Linked DNA regions of Homo sapiens: regions 2 and 3 are each linked to region 1. Evidence: promoter capture Hi-C in 16 types of primary human blood cells and fetal thymus (Javierre and others, 2016). All regions are on one chromosome and are shown on one strand. The core of a region is centred on a gene start or on the middle of the fragment in contact, and the rest is flanking DNA. Distances in the headings are between cores, read along the strand shown.

Region 1 (3,930 bases), core at 785-3,284:
ACAATCACATAAAATATTCTCAAGTTCATTATGGCCATGAGAATGAAAATTAATTACAATACAAATAATATTCATTTGTATCATATTGATGACAATTAAACATTTTTAGAAAGCTAAACGTTTGTGAGAATGTGAAGAAAGAAGATTATCCACTGCTAAAAGTATGCTGGAAAAAAATTTAGGATATCTGGTAAAAGTGTACATGCTCTAAAACCAAGAAATTCTGTAATCAGGTATGTGTCCGAGATTTTCCAGGCTATGTGTATATCAATGTTCTCATTTTACAAATAAAGTAATCAAAGCCTAGCTCTTTTTACTATTAATATATATAAAACTACTTAGAACTTTTAATATATATTAAAAGTTAACTATTTTAACTTAAAAGTATTTATTTTAACTTAAAATAAATTTTTTTATATTAAAAGTTAACTACTTTAACTATTTATATATATAAAACTACTTAGAAGTTTTAATATATATAAAACTACTTATATCCTGGTATATATTAAGGATTATATAATAATATATAGTTATCTATGATCATCCTCATCCTCATCATCAATAGTCAGTTGTAGGTGAAATTCTATTAATTAATACTGACAAATAACACATTTTAGGTGCTCATCATTGGCTCTCCGGAGGAGTATTCTAACAGCTGAATTAAAAACCTGCCAATATTTGACCAGACGATCAAGTTTGGAGGACGTCCCTTCCTCTCCCACCCAGAGCCACGCTCTTGCGTGCTTCCACAGTGACAGTGTGACCTTTTGAAATTTGGAGATCATACTCTCATCCTTGAAAACGCCCCACCGCCTTCCCTGGGGCGGCCGGCCTCCAGGTTCGCGTTCTACCTGGTAGAATCCCTTGACAGTTTCAGTACCTGGCCGCCAGGGCTTTGGGTGTTAATGCCTTCCTTGGACGGGAGGCACTGGGGAGAAGAGAGGGAAGGCGCTGAAACCCACCTGAGAAGGCGGGCTGGGGGAAGGCACCCCGGGAAAGAGGTTTTCTCGGGTGCCAGCACCCGGAGAGAGCTACTCTGGGGCCAGGCAAGCATCCCGCCTAGGCTCCCTAGTGCATATTAGTGAGTAACACGACTGGCGCGCGAGGTGGTCCATTTTATTTTTGGTAGCTAGACGCCAATAGGACGCACCACTTCAGCTCCAAACGGGAACTGGTGGCCCCAAGATGTTTTCTTTTCTTTTTCATTTTTTTGAGACAGGGTCTCGCTCTGTCGCCCAGGCTGGAATGCAGTGGAGAGATCTCAACTCATCGCTACCCCCTCCTTCTGGGTTCGAGTGATCCTCCCACCTCAGCCTCAGTAGCTGGGACCACAGACACGCGCCACCACGCCGGCTAATTTTTATATTTTTTGCAGAGAAAGGGTCTCGCTATGTTGCCTAGGCTGGTCTCGAACTCCTGGCCTCAAGTGATCCACCCGCCTCGGCCTCCCAAAGTGCTGGAATTACTGGCGTGAGCCACCGCGCCCGGTCTGCCCCCAAGACTTTCATTGAAAAGATGGAATGGTCGCTTCTGTGCGGATCCTCCAAACCATCGTTGGGAGAGGCCTCCTTAAAGTCTAGGAGAAAAGTTGTTTGGGACCGATATGAAAGTAAGGCAAAGCCGGATGGAAGAGAGTAGCCGAAACAAGCAAGAAAAGGAAAAGCGATCGTGATGGGTTTAGGAAAGGTGATCTGGCGTGCTAAATGGCATTTCCGGAGAAATCTGAAAACTATTGCTTTACTGAAGTATAGCAAAGAGCTGTCCGGGCTCTGGAAACTCCTTAACGGATCAAAACGGATGCAATGGGTATCCTTCTCCAAAGACACACCTCAAACGGGCCGGGAGCCGGGCAGTTAGCCACCCGCTGCCTCCCCTTCCGCAGTCCGGCTCGCAGCCGCTCAGCTACCTCTAAAGCCCGGAGCAGGAAAGTCCGCGCAGGCCTGGATGGCCCGGGTGGTAATCTAGCAGGCCTGCACACTGCGCATGCGCAGGGGGTGGACTGCCAGGTCGGCTCAGGGAGCCGTGACGAGTCCGGAAGCGCCTGCGCGCGCTCCTCCGTACGAGAACTAGTTTTGTTCCGTGCCCTCTGGACTGGAACCTTTTGGAGAGAACCCCCGGCAGGACCAACCCCGCACCCGCCAGCACCGCGGCAATGTCCAGCAATAGTTTTCCTTACAATGAGCAGTCCGGAGGAGGGGAGGCGACGGAGCTGGGTCAGGAGGCGACCTCAACCATTTCCCCCTCGGGGGCCTTCGGCCTCTTTAGCAGCGATTTGAAGAAGTGAGGAGAAAGGTTTGGGTTGCGGGGATGGGAGGGAGGAGCTGCGGACTCGGAGGAGTGGGCGCCAGGGTGGGCTTCCTGGAGAGGAGCGGGGTCGCCCTGAGGTCTGAGCAGGGCAGGGCGGTAACGTGTCCCGCGGGTGGGTAGGTGGGGTTGGTTGGCGGTGGTGGGAGTTGTGGGAGTTTGGGGCGAATGTGTGTAGGGGTCTCTAGTAGTTTTCAAACTTTAGTGAAAAGGAAACCACTTGGTGAGCTTAGATCCCACCCCTGAAGACACTGATTGAATTGGACTTGGGCTGGGCTCAGGAGTCTGAATTTTGAGCATCGTCTTCTAGTTTATTTACCGTTCGCCGGATCAGACTTTAATACATTCCCTGATTAGGGTGAAAGGAGTGTTTTGGTGAAGGTGAGAGTGCGAGTGTTGCTTGTGGGAAGTTATTTTGTGACCCCGGAGTGTAGGAGCAGAGAGGTGGATTTAGGCTGTTTGAATGGACAAACTGGTTTACACCAGTATTAATGTTCTTGGATTATGTCCTTTGCACTACAGACAAAAACACCAATCCAAAATAAGCATATGAATAGAAAATATTTTAAAAGAGTGTTACTGTGAACAAATCCAAAACTTTTACAGATTAATAATGTGAATTTTAAAAACGAATGTTAAACAAGGTACACTTAGTTTTGTAAAAAGTATCACCGAGAAATGGAAAGAAATCCCAAGTTGTTTGTTTTGGGGGGTGGGTTGGTGGTAGTGGTTACATTTACCAGAATTATCATTTTTACATTTCTCTTATTTTAAATCTTTCATTACTAAGCAATAGGGTCACATAATAGTCTGTCACTAAATTCATGCTAAATTAAGGTAGAATAGCTGTGCTAGTAGCTTTGCAGATCTGTTAGAGGGTATAATTAAAATTTAAATTAAACGTTACTAACAATATTGGGTAGTCTAGAAAGTGCTACTACTTCAAATTGGGATTACATTTTGGCTGTATTGAGGATCAAAATCATATATATAGCATGTAAGATACAATCTTTTCCTTTTTCCCAAGGTTAGAAAAGTTTAAAAGTAAGGTAACTGATTTCATTTTTCATTATATGCATTTGATGATCCATTGTTCTAGAACAAGTACGGAGCTTGTTGCCTCTACTATTAGCAAAATGTTTAGACTGAATTAACCTGTATATCGGCATCAATCTGTTTCGCAAATTAATTTACTTTTATGGTTTGTGAACATCTACGATGTTTTCTCTTAGATTTTTGTCAGATTTGGGGCCAGGCACTGCGGCTCACGCCTGTAATCCCAGCACTTTGGGAGGGTGAGGTGGGCGGATCGCTTGAGGCCAGGAGTTCGAGACCAGCCTGGCCAACATGGTGAAACCCCGTCTCTACTAAAAATACAAAAATTAGCCGGGCGTGGTGGCTCGTGCCTGTAATCCCAGCTACTCGGGAGGCTGAGGCAGGAGAATCGCTTGAACCCGGGAGGCGGAAGCTGCAGTGAGCCGAGATCGCGCCACAGCACTCAAACGTGGGCGACAGAGTGAGACTCCGTCTCAAAAAAAGAAAAAAAAGAAAAAGATTTTTGTCAAATTTGGACCTGATTTGGAAAAAAAAAACAAAAAAAACTTACGGCTTTGACTCTGTGACCAG
Region 2 (3,930 bases), core at 728-3,227, 1.4 Mb after region 1:
AACAAAACCCACCAAAACCCAACAGACAAACATAAGACTGCAGGACAACTCAAACAGGAAATTCAGCGAATGCTGGCCAGCTTGTGACTTCTGCTTTCTGCTGTGTACTTTATATTTAACCTCATTCCTTCCTCTACTTTACATCTCGTTCTTTTCTGTCTGCTTTCTCTCCTACTTAATTTATAATATCTTACTCTACTTTGTGTTATCTTCATATGTCACCTTAAATCCTACCTAGGACCCAGGAGAGTATAAATAAACTGACCACAGGACATCTCCACTTAGGTAACACATCAGAGTCTCAGATTCCAAACCACAGCAAACTGATTTTGGCATTTTCCAATCCCCTGCTCCCTTCTTCCTCTACCCCAGAGGGGATCCCCTTTTTTTGCTGCTCCAGTCAACAGCAATACCCTCATTCACCCAACTGCATGGCCAGAAACCTGAGTATGATGCTATTCCTGGCCCCTCTCTCTCTCTCATGCAATCAGTTGCCAGGTTGTATCTCCTCACTCTCTGTTCCTTCCTCCTCAACCCTAGCGCCATAGTTCAGGCCCTTGTCACTTCTGGCCTGAATTACTGCATGAGATCCCAACTCACCTCCTGCACCTACTTTGCTCTTCTTCAAAATTAGCCTCCCCTGCCTGCTGGGAGGCACACCTGAGCTCCTCACTTAACCTCCTGGACAGGCCCTGCCATCCCCTGGCTAAATCTAAACTCCCCGCAGTGTGCCCACCCATCCCCTCTGCACCATCTGTGCCGCACACGTGGCACTGCCACTGTGCTGCCCATTCCTCTGCTCAGGTGCCAGTCCTCCAGGGAAGCCTCCGATGCCCCTCAGCTCCTGGGAGCACTCCGCCTCTGGGTGCCCCTGTATCACCTCATGCTTTCCTCTAGACCTGCACCGGCACTGGGTTGAAGGAAAATAATAGTAGCCAACGTTAATTAGCACATACTCTGGGCCAAGCACCCTTCTAGGCAGTTTAAATGTATTCCTTTATGTCATCCTCAAAAATCCCATGAGGAGGCTGGGGAGCGGTGGCTCATGCCTGTAATCGCAGCACTTTGGGAAGCCAAGTGGGAGGTGGAGGTTGCAGTGAGCTGAGATCACACCACTGCACTCCAGCCTGGGTGACAGAGTGAAACTCCATCTCAGAAAAAAACAAAAAACAAAAAAAACTTTATTTCTCTGTCTAACCCAAATTTTGTGTCCTCTCACCAACTTCTCCCCAGCCCCTCCATCCCTCTTCCCTCTCTTCTTCTGTAGGCTGAGAGCAGCCATTCCAGGGCTGATTGTCCAGGCATGCCCAGCACTGGCCAGTGTGAAGAGGAGGAGCATAGACCACTGCTGTGACTTCCTGGGAGTGGGCTTACACTGGCATCTGTGCAGGCTTCAGGAAAAAGAAGCGAAATCACGGCGTGGATCTAAGGGGCCAAGCCTCACCTTGAAGGTTCTTCTGGGTCTTTGGCCTGGACAAGAACATGAAACTTGAATTTCTCAAGGTGAGGTGAAGGCCAAGCAGGAAGCCAGGATGGTCACCAGGAAAGGAGCCAGAATGAACTAAGTGTTCTTTAGGGCAAGGAACTTACCAGAACCTCTACGCTCCGAGCTATGATCAGGCTGCTCTCTCCCTCTCTCTCTCTCTCTCTCTCTCCCCCACCCCCCCGACCCCTTTGTGGCCAAGGTAAGGCCACATTTTAGAGTGGAAGCCCCAAGGCAACCCCCCACCTCACAACCTCCACTCTTGTTGCCCTCTCTAATCCAACGCCTGCCAGGCTCACACTTCAACCACTAGACTGAAAAGCAAGAATCTTCCACAAAAATAATCTTTTACCTTAGACCTGCTTCCTGTGCAGATGAGATAAGGAGAATGCTCTTGTCTGAATTTCTGGGCGTGGAGATTAGCAAGCCGTTTTCCTCCCAGCAGCTAGAGCGAGCAAGAGGCCCTGCTGTGAGTAGTGCTGTTCTGAGTCTGCGTGGTCCAGACTCACCACACTGCAGGCACGTTTCTTCATCAGGTGGGAAAGCAGGAAGAGGTTTAATTTAGGACCTAAAGCTGGTATATTGCTGAGTAAAAGAAATGGGAAGGCACCAAGTCTCTAACGAAATTGCGCTGGGTGCAGTGGCTCATGCCTCTAATCCCAGCACTTTGAGAGGCTGAGGTGGGTGGATCACTTGCGGTCAGGAGTTTGAGACCAGCCTGGTCAACGTGGCGAAACCCCATCTCTACTAAAAATATAAAAATTAGCCAGGCATGGTGGCGGGCGCCTGTAATTCCAGCTACTCGTGAGGCTGAAGCAGGAGAACGCTTGAACCTGAGAGGCAGAGGTTGTAGTGAGCTGAGCTCGCCGCTGCCCTCCAGACTAGGTGACAGAGCCAGATTCCGTCTCAAAAAAACAAAAAAAAAAGAAAAAGAAACTGCTTGTGATCCAACACTCCCCCACTGGTGCCTCCTCATGGTGAAGAGCAATTACTCTGGCACCAGAGTCTTGGGGTTCAAATCCTTACTTCACCAGTATGTGACTGGAAAAGCTACCTAACCTGCCTGCTGAAGCTTCATGGCTAATAATTCCTCACAGCATTTCTTTTTTTCTTTTTTTTTTTTGAGACAGAGTCTTGCTCTGTCACCCAGGCTGGAGTGCAGTGGCATCATCTCAGCTCACTGCAACCTCCACCTCCCTGGTTCAAGCTTCTGCCTCAGCCTCCCAAGTAGCTGAGATTACAAGCGCCCACCACTAAGCCTGGCTAATTTTTGTATTTTCAGTAGAGATGGGGTTTCACCATGTTGGTGAGGCTGGTCTTGAATTCCTGACCTCAAGTGATCCGCCCACCTTGGCCTCCCAATGTGCTGGGATTATAGGCGTGAGACACTGCGCCTGGCCCAGGAGGAATAAGTTTAAGAGCTCCCATTGTACAGCATGCTATCTATAGTTAATAACAATATATCGTGTATCGAAAATTGCTAAGACAGTAGATGTTAAGTGTCTTTATCACCCCCAAAAAATGACAAGTATATGGGGCAATTAAGTCAAATAGCTTGACTTAATAATTCCACAATGTATACATAAATTAAAACATCAAGCTGTATTTGTATACCATAATATATACAATTTTTACTTGTCAATTAAATAAATAAATACACAGAAAAGGGCAGAGACAGGTCAAGAAGCACAGCACTCAGTACAGAAATACAGATAACAATATATTGAAAGAAAGAATTCAAAGATAAATTTTTTTTTTTTTTTTTTGGAGACAGAGTCTTGCTCCATTGCCTAGGGTAGAGTACAGAGACACAATCACAGCTCTCTGCAACCTCAACCTCCCAGGCTCAAGTGATCCTCCCACTTCAGCCTCCCAAATAGCTAGGACTGCAGGGTATGCCACCACAACCTGGCTAATACTTGTATTTTTTTGTAGAGATGGGGTTTCACCATGTTGCTTGCCCAGTCTAGTCTTGAACTCCTGGGCTCAAGTGATCCTCCCAGCCTGGCTTCCCAGAGTGCTGGGATTACAGGCACCAGCCACCGCACCCGGCCAAAGATATGTTCTGAAGATTGAAACGTCTCTCTTTCCAAAATAACTACTCTTGGCCAGGTATGGTGGTGTGCGCCTGTAATCCCAGCTACTCGGGAGGCTGAGGCAGGAGAATTGTTTGAATCCGGGAGGCAGAGGTTGCAGTGAGCCAAGATTGTTCCACTGCACTCCAGCCTGGGCAAGAGTGAGACTCCGTCTCAAAAAACAAACAAAACCCAAAAACCTCTTGACTGGGTGCTGTGCCTCAAGCCTGTAATCCCAGCACTTTGGGAGGCAGAGGTGGGAGGATCACTTGAGCCCAAGAGTTCAACACAGCCTGGGCAACATAGGGAGACACCATCTCTACAAATTTTTTTTTAAAAATTAGCTGGGCATGGTGGTGCACACCTGTGGTT
Region 3 (3,930 bases), core at 493-2,992, 1.3 Mb after region 1:
GTCCATGGCCAGTGACTCCACAGTTCTTCAGGGACCCAGGCTCGGTATGTCTTTCTGCTCTGCTATTCTCGGAGCATGTTTCCAGAGCCTCCAGGTCGATCCATGGTGCAAGATGGCAAGGGATGAAAGGACTTTCCCAAAGCCCCACTCAATGGTTCCTGTCTACCTATCAATAGCCACCCCTTGCTGCAAGTGGGGCTGGGAATTATGTGTATATGTGTGTTTTTCTAAGCTAGACGCATTATTCTCCTAATAATATAGGGGTTCTACAAGTAAGGAAGAAGGGCAAAATTCATGTTGAGTATGTAAATAGCAGTCTTTGCCACACCTAGTTTTCAGATCTAAGAGGTACTTAGCATAGTGGGCAGAGGCGCTGCCCTAAAAAAGCATTCTACTTGACACCCTTCACGATTTGATTTTGTTTTGTAATGTTTTTTTCCCACATCCTCTCCAATAAATGATATGAACCATTTTTTGTACTTTTTGCCATTATGAATATAATGAGCTATTTCCTTGCTGTTTTAATTGATACTCCTCTGATTACTAGAGAATCTCATACATTTGTTGAAATGTATATATGTTGAAATGGCTATATGTCCTTTCCTTTCTGTGAATTGCCTATCCATATCTTTTTGCCCATTTCTTTCTTGTTATTTTGCAGTTCTTTATATAAACAAGGTATTCCTTCTTTATCAGTTTTAGATATTACAGATATCTTCTCCCAGTTTGTCATATATTTGTTAGCTTTGTCCAGTGTTCTTTGTTAGCCAGGAGTTCTTAATTTGTATGTCATGAAATCAGTCTTTATTTTATTTTACTTTTTAAAATTTTATTTGGCTTTACAGTGTAGGGTTTCATGAAGACTTTCCTTACCCCAAGTCATATTTTCTTCTATTGATCTTATAATTTGAACTTTCACATTTGTTCTCTATTCCAGCTGGGGGTATTCAGACATGACCTAGTTTTCTCAAGACCATCCCCTTTGCATTGCTTTGTAGTACCACCATCATCTTCCATCAGGTTCCCATCTTTATATATGGGCCTAGTTCTGAGCTCGCCATTCTTTTCCACTTGTCTATTAGTCTGCTCCCATGCCAGAGCCACTCTGTTTTTATCACTTAGGTTCTTTAGTATGCCTTAACTGGTAGGGCAAGGCCCTATTTTGTTTTTCTTTTTCAAAATCAGCTTATTCATAAACCTCTATTTTTCCATATAAATTTTAGAATGAGTTCGTTGAGTTCCTCAAACAATCCAATGGGATTTTTATTAAGATTACATTGAATGTATAGATTTATTTAGGGGAATTAACATAAAACTTTATTTAGATAGTCAATTCACATACATTTTTGCTTAATATTTTTCTTGGACTTTAGTACAATTTTAACACTTGTTTCGGGAAAGGTCTTGGGTATTCTTTCTTAGGTTATTTCCTAGACACACCGTAGTTTTATTGTGAATAAAATTGTATACTGTAGTATATTAGAGAGGGAAAGAAAAGTCAAAGTGATGAATAGGTTTCTAGCTTGGATGAGGAAGATAGGGACTATTGGAGAAGAGTATGTTGCATGAGGAGGAAGGGATGCTTTAGTTTCGATATTGTTAATTATATTGAATTTGAGGTGTTCAGTAAATAGTGAGCACTGCAGAAGCCTATCTGAAGCTTGAGAAACAGATCTGGCTGTAGAACTACTACTGTGTAAAGCAAACTCAAATGGCTCCAAGGGCTAGGGAGATAAAGCAAATGAATGGACAGGGCAGCTGCTACTCAGCTCCTGCGAACTGTGGAGACATATGGGAATGTGGACCCTGTGTTGCAAAGCTTCTGATTTTTCGAAAAAAAAAAATCAATCAGGATTTTTATGTGAAATCTCTCTGTTTTAAAAAAATGATTCAAATTAGAAAAGTGATTTCTGTAACTTCAGTGTCATATGATTTATTTTGTTTTGTTTTGTTTTTTGAGATGGAGTCTCGCTCTGTCTCCCAGGCTGGAATGCAGTGGTGTGATCTCGGCTCACTGCAACCTCGGCCTCCCGGGTTCAAATAATTCTCCCACCTCAGCCTCCCGAGTAGCTGGGATTACAGGCACCTGTCACCACACCCAATTAATTTTGTATTTTTAGTAGAGACACGGTTTCACCATGTTGGTCAGGCTGGTCTCAAACTCCTGACCTCAGGTAATCCACCTGCCTCGGCCTCCCAAAGTGCTGAGATTGTAGGTGTGAGCCACCGTGCCTGGCTGTCATATGATTTATCATAAGGAATTGGCTCAGTGATTATAGAGGCTGAGAAGTCCCACAATCTGTTGTCTGCAAGCTGGATACCTAGGAAAGCCCGTGGTGTCATTTGAAGGCATGAGAGCCAGGGAGCCAATGGTATAGATTCCAATCCGAGTCTGAAGGTCTGAGAACCAGGAGTGCCAAGGGCAGGAGAAGATCAATGTTCCAGCTCAAGCAGTCAGGCAGAGCAAGAATTCAACTCTACTCTGTCTTTTTCTTCTATTCAGGCCGTCAGTGGGTTGGAGAATTCCCATCCACATTGGGGAGGGCCATCTGCTTTACCTAGTTTGGCAATTCAAATGTCTTCTGGAAACAACCTCACACACACACCAGAAATAATATTGAAGGAGATAAATGAGCATCTTGTGGCCCAATCAAGCTGACACATAAAATTAACCATCACACTTTGGAAATTGCATGAATGGCCCCAGTTCTTTATCGGTCTTCTTCCTCATCCTTTGACATGTGATTTTGTGGTTTTCCTCACTAAAAGGGAAGAATCTCCCCTTCACCTTTGAGCTGGTTTGGCCATGTGATTTGCTTTGGTCAGCAGAATGATGTGATGTGCCAGAAGAGTGACACATCTAAGCCTAAGTCCCAAGGCCTTAGTGATTCTGCTTGCCCTCTGGATTTCCTGCCATTGCCACAAGAAGAACATACCCAGGCATGTGTGCTGGTCTCAGGAGAAAGATGAATAATACAGGGAGCAGACCTCTCCTAGCTTAGATGCTCCAGCTAAGTCCAGGCTAGAGCAGAGACTTCAGGAAACCCTCAGACACATTAGCAAGCCTGGTGGTGGTGATCAGCCAGCCCACACATCACCCCTAGGCTTGTGAGAAATAATGAAGGATGGTTGTTTAAAGCCACTGAGGTTTGGGGTGTTTAGTATGCAGCAATAGCTAATTGATACTCAATCTGATCTAGAGCCATTCCAGGAGCCTATGAATTGAATCAGGCTGGAGTTCAAATGCCTGAGATATTATAATATTCCACAACAGAAGAATATTGTCAATTCAATAAAAGCTGATTTATGTCCAATTTCTTTTAGAGTGTCATCAATTTATATTTAATTAATATCCACCTGTCATAATTTATATTGGATATGGTGGGTAGCCAACTTTTCCTTACCTGATTCAACTTTTTGATGCCACAGGAGAATATCTGGGGGAACCATAGCATTTCAATAGTTCTGATTTATTGCCCCATGTTACTTTTGGTCAATTGACCATTACCCGTTTCCTCCCCTGGAGGCCCAAGAAAAAAATGGGGGGATATAACATTAAAACACTGGAGTGATGGTAAAGGAAGCCCGAGGAAGCTAAGTAAGACACTATTCTCCACCCCCAGCTAAAATTCTTACATTTTGTACCTTCCTTTTATGATGGTATAATGAGTTAAAACATTGCTGTGTTACGAATCTTCCCAAGTCCTCCTCCCTTCTACTCTCCCTTAATAATAAGAATTCGAACTCTCAAAGGACAGTCTGTCCCACTGGACCAATTCTAGGTCTTTAGAAGGCAAAATCAATGGTTCATACTAGAGCAGTACTTAAACTCTTTGTGGTGAGGATGTTTTTAAAAATTCTAGTTCATTATGGATTAATATTTTTGTAAGATACAACAAAATGCGTGAGTGAATGGGAGAGGAGAGAATA

What was found. The method cuts DNA at HindIII sites, captures the fragments that hold promoters and counts their contacts. A CHiCAGO score of 5 or more calls a contact.
Region 2: a contact is called between the fragment with the promoter of S100Z here and the fragment with the promoter of AP3B1 in region 1, in 1 of 17 cell types (non-activated CD4 T cells). The highest score is 6.5, in non-activated CD4 T cells.
Region 3: a fragment that was not itself captured here is called in contact with the fragment with the promoter of AP3B1 in region 1 in 1 of 17 cell types (total CD8 T cells); the score reaches 5.0 in total CD8 T cells.

Annotation. Positions count from the first base shown.
Region 1 is chr5:78,292,802-78,296,731 of GRCh38, reverse strand. It overlaps AP3B1 (adaptor related protein complex 3 subunit beta 1), which reads left to right and starts at 2,034. Exons shown (of 27, transcript NM_003664.5): 1 at 2,034-2,280. The coding sequence starts at 2,153. RefSeq lists enhancers at 774-823, 1,198-1,771. The HindIII fragment of the contact is 5,219 bases long and covers 1-3,930 here.
Region 2 is chr5:76,848,061-76,851,990 of GRCh38, reverse strand. S100Z (S100 calcium binding protein Z) reads right to left here and starts at 1,977. Exons shown (of 5, transcript NM_130772.4): 1 at 1,836-1,977. The HindIII fragment of the contact is 3,987 bases long and covers 1-2,557 here.
Region 3 is chr5:77,023,563-77,027,492 of GRCh38, reverse strand. No RefSeq gene overlaps it. Among named protein-coding and RNA genes, the nearest start is that of AGGF1, 4.9 kb to the left of the region's middle. The HindIII fragment of the contact is 159 bases long and covers 1,663-1,821 here.